Regions from separate parts of the Homo sapiens genome. Here regions 1 and 2 are each linked to region 3. Evidence: promoter capture Hi-C in human tissues and cell types (Jung and others, 2019). All regions are on one chromosome and are shown on one strand. The core of a region is centred on a gene start or on the middle of the fragment in contact, and the rest is flanking DNA. Distances in the headings are between cores, read along the strand shown.

The links. Contacts are between HindIII fragments. The study calls those that stand out against the background at their distance.
Region 1: a fragment that was not itself captured here is called in contact with the fragment with the promoter of FAM221A in region 3 in 1 of the 25 tissues and cell types used here (mesendoderm cells).
Region 2: a fragment that was not itself captured here is called in contact with the fragment with the promoter of FAM221A in region 3 in 1 of the 25 tissues and cell types used here (dorsolateral prefrontal cortex).

What each region holds. Positions count from the first base shown.
Region 1 is chr7:24,708,679-24,713,190 of GRCh38, forward strand. It overlaps GSDME (gasdermin E), which reads right to left. Exons shown (of 10, transcript NM_001127453.2): 6 at 1,546-1,710. Among named protein-coding and RNA genes, the nearest start is that of GSDME, 47 kb to the right of the region's middle. The HindIII fragment of the contact is 5,076 bases long and covers 1-4,095 here.
Region 2 is chr7:25,101,379-25,106,388 of GRCh38, forward strand. No RefSeq gene overlaps it. Among named protein-coding and RNA genes, the nearest start is that of CYCS, 21 kb to the right of the region's middle. The HindIII fragment of the contact is 6,269 bases long and covers 1-4,919 here.
Region 3 is chr7:23,677,301-23,682,331 of GRCh38, forward strand. It overlaps FAM221A (family with sequence similarity 221 member A), which reads left to right and starts at 2,899. Exons shown (of 7, transcript NM_199136.5): 1 at 2,899-2,983. The coding sequence starts at 2,919. RefSeq lists a silencer at 2,833-3,122 and an enhancer at 3,453-3,702. The HindIII fragment of the contact is 14,044 bases long and covers 1-5,031 here.

The DNA.
Region 1 (4,512 bases), core at 308-2,807, 1.0 Mb after region 3:
GTCCTTTCTTGTAGTACATTGCAGATTTTCTATCCTTTAATATTTAATGCCCATTTTTAAAGGGGCTGGCACCCTATTTTCATGGCAAGCACAGCTATTCTTTCTCTATCCTTTGCTTCTTCATGAGTCCTCAAGCTGAGCACTGAGTCCCCGAAGCTATTGCCTCTGCAGGATGCTTAGGGGCCTCTCCCCTTAGAATCTCTTTTCCTTTCTTTGTTTTTTGGTTTTTTTGTTTGTTTGTTTGTTTTTAAGATACTCAGAAGCTTCTTGTAAATTAAGTCTAGTGGAGATTTTATTTTTAAAGATTTGATAAAGGTTTCGTATGCAGGGATGCACACTAATACATCAATGTACCACCCATGAGGATGGACGATTCCAACTAGCAGTTGTATAAAGCCCCACGCAGAGGAACACAGAACATCAGTAACCAACATATTTCAAAACTCTGCTATACACACAACTGTCTTTACCAGTCCCAGCCTGAAGAGAGAAGCTGTCCTGGTCGGTCCAGTCGCACACCCAGCTCCCACTGCACCCCTGCTGACCAGAATGGCCAACTCGAAGGGTGGGCCTGTGGGCAGGACAGAAGGAAGCTGCAGCACGGGACTGCCTTCTGCTACCCAGTGGCTGCAGGGCCATTTTGCTGTGGTTCTAACCCACAATGACAAAATCCTTCAAGTGGCAGCTGAAAATTGCACCCACTTATCCATCTCAAGGAAGCCAAGATAGGAAAGCCTTATATTAAAATTGGGCCTTTGTTGTCATTTCTTCAAATACGGACATTTTTGCTACAAAAGCATCCTGGTTTGGGACTCATCGAAGCTCCACAGATGTAGTCACCAGGGCTTCTGTGCTTACCCTCCAAGCCAGCGCGCACACGGAGCGGTTCCTAGCTCTTTGTGCTAAGCTCTCACCTATTTGTTTCTCCTTTTCCTTGCCCATCTCCTCCTATATGCTGCGCCCCCACATCCCCGACAAAAGAAACCAGCTTTCTAAAGCACAATACGCTGTGAGGAGCAAAAGGAATTGCTGCAGGCACATCCTGGGCATGGCCCCTCTTCCTCTTTGGCACCATGCAGTCCATGCCATGTGGATAAAGAGCCTCCAAGAGAGCATTTTGCAAGGCTGACAAAGCATTGCTTGTCTTGACAATGAAGCCCAGAATATAACAAAACAGATGCAGAACGGGTTCTCCATCCTCGCGGCTGATGAGCCATTCTTAGTAGTCAACAGGGCTTCTGTGCTTACAATGAAAGAAAAATGCCAAGCCCCTGACTGCCTCACTCTTCAGTCTCCGACCCCTACCCCATGGAGCGTCATTCTCCCCACCCTTCCTAAAATACAGCACCCACAACCTGGGGCTCCCTAAGATCCAACCGAGGTGAGTCCTGCCGAGTGGACTGGGCCTCGGCGGCATCACCTCTCTTCTCATATGTTTTCTGTGAGTCACTGAGGGGTCACTGATGCTGAAGGCCACACCACCTCTTGGGATACAGGGCTCAGTTGGCCCTCAACTGCCCACTACTCCTGCCCTGCTGGCAATACCTTGCTTTAAAACACTTAATGGTCCATCCTGGGAAGATATCCCATGCGCAGCATCTGGCATGTCTATGAATGCAAACTCTCGAAAGACCAGGGGGTCCAGGTAGACAGAGTCAATTCTCTTCTTGTTCTCGAAGCCACCTTGCTTCCCTCGGAGAAGGCAGAACTCTGTAGTGCAGGAGAAAAGGACAAGTTAGGTAAAGTTGAGTCTAAGGTGTGCCAACAAGTCTGGACAGGGTCAGCCCAGCCTTGATGGCACATCTTAGACGTAACTCAGTGGAGCAGAAGACCCATCCATCTTCCCCATAAAATTCGATCCCTACACACATTATGTTGCTTGACCAAAAGCCCAGCCACTTCCAACAAATAAGGAAATGGCTGTTCTTACATAAAGCTCCCTAATATATATTCTCTGAACAGGCTGGACACAATCTTTAAAACATTGGAAATATTATTTTATCCTGATTTGAACAAACTGATTCTAAACAGACAAATGAAACCTGACATGCACAAAACAACTAGGAAAATCTGAACACTGATAATATTTTAAAAGTATTGCCAGTATATTTAGGTGGCCAAGTAGTTATGTGATTATATTTTTAAGAAATCAATGTTTCTATAATATATAGAATAATATACAGCAATAAAAAATAAAATACTGATGTCTGCAGTTATATGAATGAATTTCACAAACATGTTGAGTGAAAAATGGCAAACACAAAAGAATACATTCTCTCTGAATCTGTTTCTACAAAGGCAAAGCTAGTCTTTTTTCAAAAGCCTTATCATTTCAAGGTACTAAAATATTTACAGATGAAACAATATAATGCCTAGGATTTGCTTCAAAATAATCCAGCAGGAGAGGAAGGAGATGGTGAAGTTATGGCTAAAACATGAATTGCCCTAGTCACTGAAGCTGGATGGTGGGCACATGGGAGCTCACTACATTATTATCTCTACTTTTTAACATGTGGGAAATGTCCATAATAAAAAGGTTTGTTTTTGGTTGTTTTGTTTTTGTTCTTTTTGAGACAGAGTCACTCTGTTGTCCAGGCTGGAGTGCAGTGGTGTAATCTCAGCTCACTACAACCTCCGTTTGCTGGAAGCGATTCTCCTGTCTCACCCTCCCGAGTAGCTGGGATTACAGGCACCTGCCACCACACCTGGCTAATTTTTGTATTTTTAGTAAAGATGGGGTTTCACCATGTTGGCCAGGCTGACCTCAAGTTGATCCACCTACCTCAGCCTCCCAAAGTGCTGGGATTACAGGTGTGAGCCACTGCTCCAGGCGATAAAAAGTTTTTTAAATAATAAAAAGGGCCGGGCATGGTGGCTCACACCTGTAATGCCAACACTTCGGGAGGCTGAGGCAGGCAGATTGCTTGAGCCCAGGAGTTTGAGAGTAGCAACATAGTGAGACCCCGTCTCTACAAAAAAATTTAAAATGAGCTGGGCATGGTCACACATGCCTGTAATCCCAGCTGCTCTGGAGGCTAAGGTAGGAGGATCCCTTAAGCCCTGGAGGCGGAGGTTGCAGTGAGCCAAGATCGCACCACTGCACTCCAGCCTGGGCAATAGAGCAAGACCTTGTCTCCAAAAAAAAAAAAAAAAAAGGCAAAGAAATGTTTTCTCAAACACTTCCATATTTGAGAACCCAGCTAAGGTATCTAAGGTGTAGATAAAAATGTAAGTTATTACGTCCTTGCTAAGCAGAAACAGTAAATGAGCTCAAGAATTAGCATTCTCTTTATGATTCTATTTACTAACTTGTGTACGTAAGCAAAGGCTATGGAATAAAAATGTGGCAGGGCCCCGTATTTGCTGAAATGTAGAAGGCATGAGTATTAGCAAATATTTTCATTTGCTTGTGGGCATTAATGATGCTCATAAAGATAGAATGGAAAAGAAAAAGAAGAATGGCTGTCTAAAGACAAAGGAAACGATCCCTGGGCTTTACCCACCTGGCCCACACCAGCATTCAGGCTGACCCTACTCCTCCACACTTTGCGCTTAGCCACAGGGGTGCAGGAGTGTGAACCAGCACCTAGGTCATAACTTTGTTCCCTGAGGACAGGAGCCTTGACCATTCACACAGCCTCAAATTCTGCCAGAAGCCCTGCCAGGTCCCCAAAATAATGTGGAACCAACTGGCATTTTAAGAATCCACAGCACCAACCACACACCACACTCTCACCTTCACCCATGCATAGCTCCCTGAGGGCGCCACCAATTAATTCCTTCATTCTTTTCATCCATCCATCCCCAGCCAGCCAGCCAGCAAATATGCAACAATGTAAATCTTTAAAATTCCCTATACCAGGCCCCGTGCTCACAGCCACAGATACAAAGGACTACAACCAGGCCTTGACGATGAGTGTGGTAAGAGTGGGGACAGCGGTTGAACAGGGCTGAGGCCAGAGTGACCAGCGGGTGGAGGGGAGGAAAAACATCTTTCCTTCTGCTCATCCTAGGTTCATGGCTGAGGCCCCTATCACAACAGACAGATTAACAAGAGAGGCCAGGCACGGTGGCTCACACCTATAATCCTAACACTTTGGGAGGTCGAGGCGGGCGGATCACCTGAGGTCAGGAGTTTGAGACCAGCCTGACCAACATGGAGAAACCTCGTCTTTACTAAAAATACAAAATTAGCCGGGCATAGTGGTGCACACCTGTAATCCCAGTTACTCAGGAGGCTGAGGCAGGAGAATCGTTTGAACCTGGGAGGCGGAGGTTGTGGTGAGCCAAGATCGCACCATTGTACTCCAGCCTGGGCAACAAGAGTGAAACTCAGTCTCAAAAAAAAAAAAAAGGGAAAAGCACGCAACTTTACCGAATAGCAGTTTTACATGACATGGAAGCCTTCATAAGAAAATGAACATGTGAAAAAATAGTTAAATTTGAGTACTTTTTTGCTAGGTTTGAGGGACAGTGGTGGAGAAATGTGGCAGGGCAGAGCATATGATGGAA
Region 2 (5,010 bases), core at 535-3,034, 1.4 Mb after region 3:
TAGGCCTATGCCATTCCAGCTTCCAACATTACAGTAAGTTTTTTTTCCAGTAAACCCCCATTTCTTGAGGGAGTCTGAGATCTCTGGTTCAGGCAATCAAATAAGATTAATTGACAGCAGTGTGAGAAATAGAAATTAAATGAGGTAGTCTCTGCCATCCCAGAGCTTAAATTATTGTTGGGGAGATCATATATATTAATTCATAGAATATTTACTAGTTTCATACTGCCAAATAGTATATTGTTAGGGATATAAAAAATCTTTGTTCTATTTACAAAGATAAATAGAACATTGACCCTGTCCTCCAGGGCCTCAGAGACTGTGATGGGAAATATACGATATGAAGGGGATGCCTAGCATGCAATGGGGGTGGGGGGAGTGGGTAAGAGATTGAAGATGATTCCAGTATCAGTGGTTACTGCTTCCTACTATTAGAAAAAAAAATACTACCCAATGTGTCCATCTATGTGGAGGAAGCTCAGTTAATAGAACTCATGGCATCTCCTCACTCCTTTACCTCTTCCTCTGTAAATTTAGGGAGAATTGAAATAGGCCTATATGGTTTGAATCTCTCTTTCCTTTTGGGAGCTAACATTTCAAGGAAGCAGACATTCTAACTCCTCTGTCCAGCACTGCCTGCAAGTGGGTGCTGAAATCTGTCTAACTCTGGGGTCCAGCTAGTAGGCTTGCTTGGTCTTGCCCTAAGCTTCCCAGCTTCATCTTTATCAGTAGATGAGGTGGTATTTAGTTTCCCATCTAACTTGTTCTTTGTTTTATTTTTCATTTTATTCAGGACTTGTGTGGGGAAAAGAGAGATCATTATTTGAACCCTCCTAGAGGCATCAACACCCACATTGGAGGTTTTTAAGACCATATGAACTCTTCCAACCACTACTGTCTAAGTCATTGATGAACACGGACCAAAGCCAGAACACAGATTAATCAGCAATATATGCCTTAAGGTCCGGGATAAAAAAGGATCTGTGTCAATTGTATTTTGCACTGAAATTTAAAAACGGATTTTCCAGTTGGTAGCAGGGCAGTAAGACATGTGGATTGTGGCTGAATCCCAGTAATAGTAGTGCTCTAGAGTTAAGATCCCCAAACCCTGCCATCCTCTAGCTCCTGACTCTGTGAGGCCCAGGCTTGTCCTTGAATTTCCACACGTTCCATGGGTTGCGTGTGTTGGGAGACAGTTCTCCATGAGTCTCTCATGCATCCACTCATCTTGTGAACAGAGGTACTGTTCTGGAGAATAGAGACTTAGTTCTGGATGATTTTTTTCAAGGATGTTTGTATAATGAACAGCCTTGGAAGATAAAGATAGTGTGTTCCTCTAGAGCAAAAGGCACGTTTTGTTTACCGACTAGGAAAATAAAGATAATTTCTCCCAAGGGGGCAAAGTCATTCAGGTTTAGGCTCATTATAAAAGATTCAGGTTCCCTGTGCTCTGGGATCTTTGTGTAATGTAACCCACTGCAGGCGTAGGTAATATCTGGCCATCTTTGTGTCACCCTGTGGGACTTGGAGTTAAGGAACTGACACAGAAATGATGATACTCTGGCTTTTGCTATTCTAGCAATTAATAAATTATCCCTTGTCTCTGACCAAGAGTCTTGTGTCTTTTGCCAGCATCCACAAAATGGTGGCAGGCTAACTTGTTAGCTTCCAAGTAGAGTAAAACCTCAGAATCTTTATTATTATTATTATTATTATTATTATTATTATTATTATTATATTTTTGAGACAGGGTGTCACTCTGTCACCCAGGCAGGCTGGAGTGCAATGGTGCAATCATAGCTCACTGCATTCTTGAACTCCTGGCTCAAGCGATCCTCCTGCCTCAGCCTCGCAAAGTGCTGACATTACAGGTATGAGCCACTATGCCTGGCCTTCAGACTTTTCATTATTGATAGTATATCTTATTCTTTAAAAACCCAAACCTCCAAAACTTTCCTTTATCTGAGATATCTTGATGAAATCTCTTTTCTTTGCTAGGAGCCCTGACTAGAACATATTTAAAACAAATCGTGCTGGAGAAAAAGGCAGTTCCAGCTATAGGAGTGACACAAACGTTAACTGGGTTTGGGAACTAACAGCACATGTAGACCTACCTGGAAGAGTCCAAGGAGTCACTCCAGTGAGGGACTAGCTGGGTATTTGCATAGGCCACGATTCCACTTCTTTGTCTACATCTTTTGCTCCTCATCTATGCATAGCCCAGAGGAGGTCAGTAGTGCCCCTTGCCCCATCAGCAAGTCAGCAACGATTGTACCAATAATCTCTTTTTCTTTTGAGAGATAATGTACTTAAAGCTTCCAATCTTCTTTGTGTGTTCTCAGTCACTAACTAGTACTTAGGCATAATATTTGTATATATTTATGGGGTTCAATGTGTTGTTTTGATATATGCATACACTGTAGAAAGATTAATTCAAGGTAATTAACACATCCATCAACGGCTTATCATTTTTGTGGTAAAAACATTTAAACATCTACTCTAATAGCAATTTTGAAATATACATTACTATAGTCACCCTGCTGTGCAATAAATGACTAAAACTTTGTATGCTTTGACCATTTCCCCTTTTTTCACGCTCGTCCCACCCACCGGCCAGCCTCTGGTGACCACCATTCTACTCTTTCCTTCTATGAGTTCGGGTTTTTCAGATTCTACATACAAGTGACATTATGCAGTGTTTGTCTTTCTGAGCCTGGTTTATTTCACTTAGCATAATGCCCTTCAAGTTCATCCATGTTCTCACAAATGGCAGAATTTCCTTTTTATTTTTAATTTAATTCATTTATTTATTATCATTATTTTTGAGACAGAGTCTTGCTCTGTCACCCAGGCTGGATTGCAGGGATGTGATCTCGGCTCACTGCAACCTCTGCCTCCCAGGTTCAAGCAATTTTCTGCCTCAGCCTTCTGAGTAGCTGGGATTACAGGCAACGGCCACCATGCCCGGCTAATTTTTGTATTTTTAGTAGAGATGGGGTTTCACTGTGTTGGCCAGGCTGGTCTTGAACTTCTGACCGTCTGCTCCACCTGCCTTGGACTCCCAAAGTGCTGGGATTATATTTATTTATATTTTTCTTGAGACAGAGTTTCACTGGTTGCCCAGGCTGGAGTGCAATGGCGCAGTCTCAGCTCACTGCAACCTCTGCCTCCCAGGTTCAAGTGATTCTCCTGCCTCAGCCTCCCAAGTAGCTGGGATTACAGGTGTCCATCATCAAGCCAGGCTAGTTTTTTTTTTTTTTTTTTTTTGAGATGGAGTCTTGCTCTGTTGCCCAGGCTGAAATACAATGGTGTGATCTTGGCTCAACACACAACCTCTGCCTCCCAGGTTCAAGCGATTCTCTTGCCTCAGCCTCCCAAGTAGCTGGGACTACAGGTGTGCACCACCATGCCCGGCAACGTTTTGTATTTTTAGTAGAGACAGGGTTTCACTATGTTGGCCAGGCTGGTCTCGAACTCCTGATCTCGTGATCTGCCCACCTCAGCCTCCCAAAGTGCTAGGATCACAGGTGTGAGCCACTGTGCCCAGCCTAATTTTTGTATTTTTAGTAGTGACGGGGTTTCACCATGTTGGGCAGGCTGGTCTCGAACTTCTGACCTCAGGAGATCCACCTGTCTTGGCCTCCCAAAGTGCTGGGATTACATACATGAGTCACCGTGCCCAGCGAGAATTTCCTTTTTAAAGGCTATCTAGTATTCTATTGTGTACATAGACCACATTTTCTTTATCCATTCATCTGTTGATGGAAGGCATAATATTTTTAAATTTTATTATCAGCCTCTAAACATGTCCTATGTTGTCACTGCATTTTAACTGTTCAGTCAAGGTGATGGACCATTCTGAGACATCCACATTCTCTCTGGGGACCCATGGGTAGTTACAATGACTGACCAGGGTTTGAAATTATGTAACATCAGATACTGAGAATTAAGGGCTAGGAGGCAGAACTGTATTAGGAAGGGCAAGAGTTTTGACGTTGGAGAGTCTTGACTTTGAATCTTAGTTCTATAACTTACTAATGAGCAATCTAACATCGCTTAGCTTCTGTTTCCTGATTAAATAAAGTGCATTCAACAGTTACTGCCCCCGCCCCCAATATGCACAGGATTAAGTGCTAAATGAGACCAGGCATAGAAAACCCCTGGTATCCATGCAATTGAAGCACAAAATACCATAGTTATAAAATGGCCACCATTATTGTTTTTAATAGGGATCTTTGACTCTGCTTAGCAAAATAGTCACAAATTGACTAATTTACAATCCATAGAAGAGAATTCAACCTACGAGAGGGCTATCAAACCTTTTATCTTGGGAATAAATGGAAAAACAGAATGCGATATATCTGTGAGTGTCCAAATGTGTTTTCTTCCATAATTTATTTGGAGCAGGCACAGCATTTACTACAGAATTTTAACAAGGAGACAGGAGTGGGAACCACTACAAAATAAAATCACAGGATTTAGAAAGCAGGCAATCCTGCTTTTGAGAAAAGTAAAGAAAGTCCAAGTATTGTTTACTCTGGCCTGGGATGTAGAGGGAGGCTAGTTTGGGGATCTGGAAATAAATGGGACTGAGATGCTGGGAGATTGTGAGGAAAGACAATGTTATTCTGCTGGCATTAAGGCAGGGCTGAGATGTTAGGCAAGTTCTTTATAAGGGCAGGTCATCTGTAAGTGAACCTGCAGGTCCAAGATAAAGAGGGAGGGCTGTGGGGAGTTGATGAGGCCTGAGGTCCACCTCTTTCTTGTGTGGAGCCAAAGATGAAGTATCTTGCAGCAGAGCACTCCTACTGAGAATGGTAAGAAAAACCAGCGTTGCTTTCTTTCTTTCTTTTTTTTTTTTGAGACAAATTTTCGCTCTTTTTGCCCAGGCTGGAGTGCAATGGGGCGACCTCAGCTCACTGCAACCTCCACCTCCCGGGTTCAAGCGATTCTTCTGCCTCAGCATGCTGAGTAGCTGGGATTACAGGCACACACCACCACACCTGGCAA
Region 3 (5,031 bases), core at 1,649-4,148:
TCAACTGTCAAACCATTAAGACAATAAGAATCAGGCTGATCAGGATTAAGAATGACTGAGAGAAGATTGCAGAGACTTAGACTTTAAGCTGGGTGCAGTAGCTGGTTGAGATTTTGGGACTGCCTTACTTAGAGGTCTGATGAATGCCTTTAGTGTGCAATGCCTGCATGGGAAGAAGGGCATGCATGGATATTAATCAGTTTAAGGATAAGCTGTCACCAACCATGTTTCTTGGTGAACTAAACACATTTTTAACCCAACACACATTTCTTTTTTTCTTTTTTTTGAGATGGAGTTTCACTCTTATCACCCAGGCTGGAGTGCAATGGCGCCATCTCAGCTCACTGGAACCTCTGCCTCCTGGGTTCAAGCAATTCTCCTGCCTCAGCCACCCCAGTAGCGGGAATTACAGGCATGAGCCACCACACCTGGCTAATTTTTGTATTTTTAGTGGAGATGGTGTTTCACCATGTTGGCCAGGCTGGTCATGTACTCCTGACCTCAGGTGACCCACCTGCCTTGGCCTCCCAAAGTGCTGGGATTACAGACATGAGCCACCGTGCCCTGCCCCAACACACATTTCTAACCCTCTCCTTGACAATTGCCATCATAGAGCCTGGAAAACTAAGTACTGGATTGGCTTTCCCAGTTTTCTCTATACCAAGGTGTGGCCATGTGAGACATAAATGAAAATTTTTTTGCAGAGGCCTCTAGGAAAACTCTTTGATAAAAGAAACAAATGATGTTGGTGGCCCTCCTTTTTCCTTTCTTGAATTTGGGTATGATTTCTGGAGTTGTAACAGCTCTTGCAACCATGAGGAAAATGCTCTAAACCAATGTGAGCAACTACCTACCCCCACTCTTCTTTAAAGCAATAAAAAATAAAATTTATGTTTAATTAAGCCACTGTTAGTTGAATTATTCTGTTATTTTCAGAAGAAAGCATTCTTAACCTATACATCACAGCAAAATGCTGGCAAATCCTATCTCATAAACTTTCATGAGGATTGAATAAATAAAATGCCTAACACTTGCCTAGGCAATTTACATGTTCCTCTGTCCACCCTACTTCCTAGATCAATTTAGCTACACATTGGGAGGAAGTTATAGTTTGATTATACCTTTTTATTAAAGCAGAGGTGAGTACCATATACAGTATTTTAATTTGCAAATCTGTCAGCTTTATGTAAGGTCAGGATAACATTTTCTAGTTTGTTCCATACTCTTATTCGTCACGCTCAATATTTTTGTTGACTTCTTTGGCCAGAAGAGTTTACTGCTCCAGCATCTTCCTGGAAGAGTCCACAATTGGGCTAAATCTATTTTAACCATTTCCCTCTAGATTTTTAAATTGTACTTGCCTACACAGACATTCCCCTGCCACTTTTCTGTAAGCCTGCAGAGCCTGGCATTTTCTTCTATTTTTCTTTGTTAGTTCAGTTGCTGCCTAAAAGCAAGACTAGGCTCTCATAGAGGTAGAATGGGGCTGGGCGTGGTGGCTCACGCCTGTAATCCCAGCACTTTGGGAGGCTGAGGCGGGCAAATCACGAGGTCAGGAGATCAAGACCAGCCTGGCCAACATGGTGAAACCCTGTCTCTACTAAAAATACACACACACACACACACACAAAAGCCAGGCGTGGTGGCTAGTGCCTGTAATCCCAGCTACTCAGGAGGCTGAGGCAGGAGAATTGCTTGAACCTAGGAGGCAGAGATTGCAGTGAGTCGAGATCCCGCCACTGCACTCCAGCCTTGGAGACGGAGCAAGACCCCATCTGGGAGGTGTCGGGTGGAAGAGGTAAAATGGACAGCAGCAAACCACACGTGTGATAGGAGAGAATACTGAGCTGAGATCAGTTTCCTAAAATATGAATCCGATTTCAGGATCACTCATTTATCTGACTGTCAAGAACGCCTCTGAACAGGAGGAAGACTTTGGGGAGAGGGTGGGGTTTGTTGAAAGGGTACCGAGAAGGGAGGTGGGTGGTACCCAAACAATTTGTTTACATAATGTTTTATGGACCTGAAATATGTAGAACAGTACTTTGAAACTAAAGTACTGTACTGAAGTTTAATTATTTTTCTTATTGTTTGCATATTCTCCCTCCCAGATACTTTACAGAGGGCGCTAAAGCTGATCCCCTGGGAGCTTCAGAGTTTAATGACTTCGCCTGAAGATTTCCTATTCTTTTCCACAACGTGCTAAGTCAAATTATGGCCAAATTACCAATCGCATGGTAATTCAGCTTCTAAATATATTTTGCAGAGTGTTTCCAAAAGTTAAAAAACAACAACAAAACTTCACCTAAATTGTTTTTACTTGCTTCACCTTAAATCAGTTATTCGGTTCCTTTGAAGAACATGTAGCTTTAGCAACCCCCAAAGTGAACCCAGATACCCAGGACTACTGATTGTTACATCAGAGTTTTTGAAAACGCCAATACTGGAAACAGGCCGACAGTTAAGGAGAGGCAGGCCTCAAACTAAAGCAGAACCTTCTCAAAACTACTTATATTTCAAGAGATGGATTAAGCGAAAAGAGCTGTACAAAGAAATAAGCCATTTTCTATGCGCCTGTTATATGCAAGGCACTGCACTCCCTTGTCACTTGTTAATTTACAAGAAGACTCGCCGGTCCAGGGAAGGGAGAGGGGAATAGGTGCAAGGTTTGTGGAGGGCGGCAAACTGCACTCCATGTGGCGCGAGGCTGCGCTTGCGGAGATCCGGGTTCTGGTGCCTGGCGCCGGCAGCCAGTAGGGGCGCGCGTCCTGCGCAGTTGCCGCGCGCGGCCTCCTCGGGCTTCAGGCCGGGCCAATCAGGAGGCGGGCGGGAGGGGGCGCGGTACCGGGAGGGAACGGGGCGGGTCGGGCTTCGAGGTCAGCTGGTCCGCAGGGAAGCCTTTGGCTTCCCCACCGGCAATGGAGCGGTTGACGTTGCCTCTCGGCGGCGCGGCGGCGGTGGACGAGTACCTGGAGTACCGGAGGTGAGGCTGTGGCTCCGGGCCTGCCCCCCCGCCGCTCCGAGGGGCCAGGATCCCTGGGCTGGGGGCGCGAGCAGGGGCCCGGCGGGCGTCCGCGGGGGTTCCCGGAATCTGTGCCTGGGCTGTTGGGGGAGGCCTAGATGAATTCCAGTTTAGTCTTTGCCTAATTAAATATTGTAGGGCCACGCGGTTCTATGCAGTGATGAGTCTTCCAATAACATTTAAGAGGCCCCTCTGCTCCCTTCCAAGAAGGATGACTAACTCTAGATTGATACAGAGGTCCAGCTGTTTTTTAAATGGCCATTGAAAACAGGCACATCGAGTACTCGGGGCTATAGAAGTTAGCATACATCAAATTAACCCAGTAATTGAGTCAACCGTGAACTTCTGAACGCGCTCCCCACCCCGAGGTGCTGGTTTTAGGAGAAAGGCACCGACTGGTGTTTGGTATTCTGGAGAAACCCCTTCCGAAACTGGAAACGGAGTCGCTCCTTTGGCCTGAGGACGCGGTTCATTGTCCTGGATCCTGACCGAGGCTGGTGCACCTGCAGCGACGCGCTCTTTTTCCGCTTCCTGGGGTTTTTGATCGTCCGGAATCTGGGCGGATGGGAAGTCCTGGAGAGGACCGCCTGAGGACGCGGAGTTGGGGCGGGAGGATGTGTGTGTACAAGCGGAGGGGAGACGCTCCAGGCTCCGCCAGGGAGGCCGGAGCGAGCGACAGGGGCTCCTCTGCGGCATCGTGGGTGGCCCAGATGACCCAGAGGTGTGCGCGCAGACGGCCCCCCAGCTGACTGTTCTCCCCTGCTCTGACTGCCCTGTTTGTGTAGTTTTGGGTAACCCTTAGAACTGCCTGGATATTCTGAGCCAGAAGAATAAGGGCTAGGAGCTTGATGGGGTCAGTTCCCACGCCCGGTTCAGGGTCAGAACAACCACCATCCCGTCCTCTCCCAGAGCAGAGCCGGCTCCTTTAGCCTCCAGTTCTCCAGAGCTTTTGCCTGGGAGCAAGTTGCTGGAGCTGGTGTTGACTGATAACTTGGATATTTAGATATGTGAATTGTGGGCCTCCAGTTGACTCTTGCCTAGCTCCGAACATGTTAGGGCAGACCTATGTATGTAGTTATTTATTTTATTGAGAAATTATTTAGTTATTTATTTTATTGAGACGGGGTCTGACTCTTTCCCAGGCTGGAGTGCAGTGGCGCGATCTCGGCTCACCGCAATCTCCGCTTCCTGGGTTCAAGTGATTCTCCTGCCTCAGCCTCCCGAGTAGCTGGGACTACAGGCGGCCAGCTAATTTTTGTATTTTCTGTAGAGACGGGATTTCACCACGTTGCCCAGGCTGGTCTTGAACTCCTGGACTCAAGCTATCCACCTGCCTCGGCCTCCTAAAGTGTTGGGATTACAGGCCTGGGCCACCGCGCCCGGCTGGGAAATTATTTTTGCAATCGTAAATAACTTGCAACACTTCCCTCTGAAAGAGATTATCAGGTCCTTTACTGACGTCAGAATTTTAGAAAAGTGGGGAAAACAGGACTTGAGTACCTAGATATGAAAAGGTGGGCTGGGAAGGTGGGGTGGGAAGATGAGTCAAAATATGAGTTTAGAAGGAAACAAACTTTCCTTCCGAAGAGTTTTCCTGGATTTGCTCTTGCCTAGGTACTTCGGTGGGAGTCGGTTGGGAGGGGAAGCATGCAGCCTTGTTACTCACACTGTGGGAGGCCCTGACCAGTGTCCTGGCATCACCTGTTAGCTTGTTAGAAAAGCAGAATCTCAGGCCCACTGCAGACCTATTATTATTATTATTATTTAGAGTCTCGCTCTGTCACCCAGGCTGGAGTGCAGTGGCACTATAATGGCTGACTGCAACCTTGACCTCCTGAGCTGAAGCGACTCTCTCTTCTCAGCCTCCTAACTAGCTAGGACTACAGGCATGCATCTCCGCACCCAGCTAATTTTAAAATTTTTTGTAGAGATGGGATCTCACTAGGATGCCCAGGCTCATCTTGAGATCCTGGCCTCAAGCAATCCTCCCACCTCAGCCTCCCAAAGTG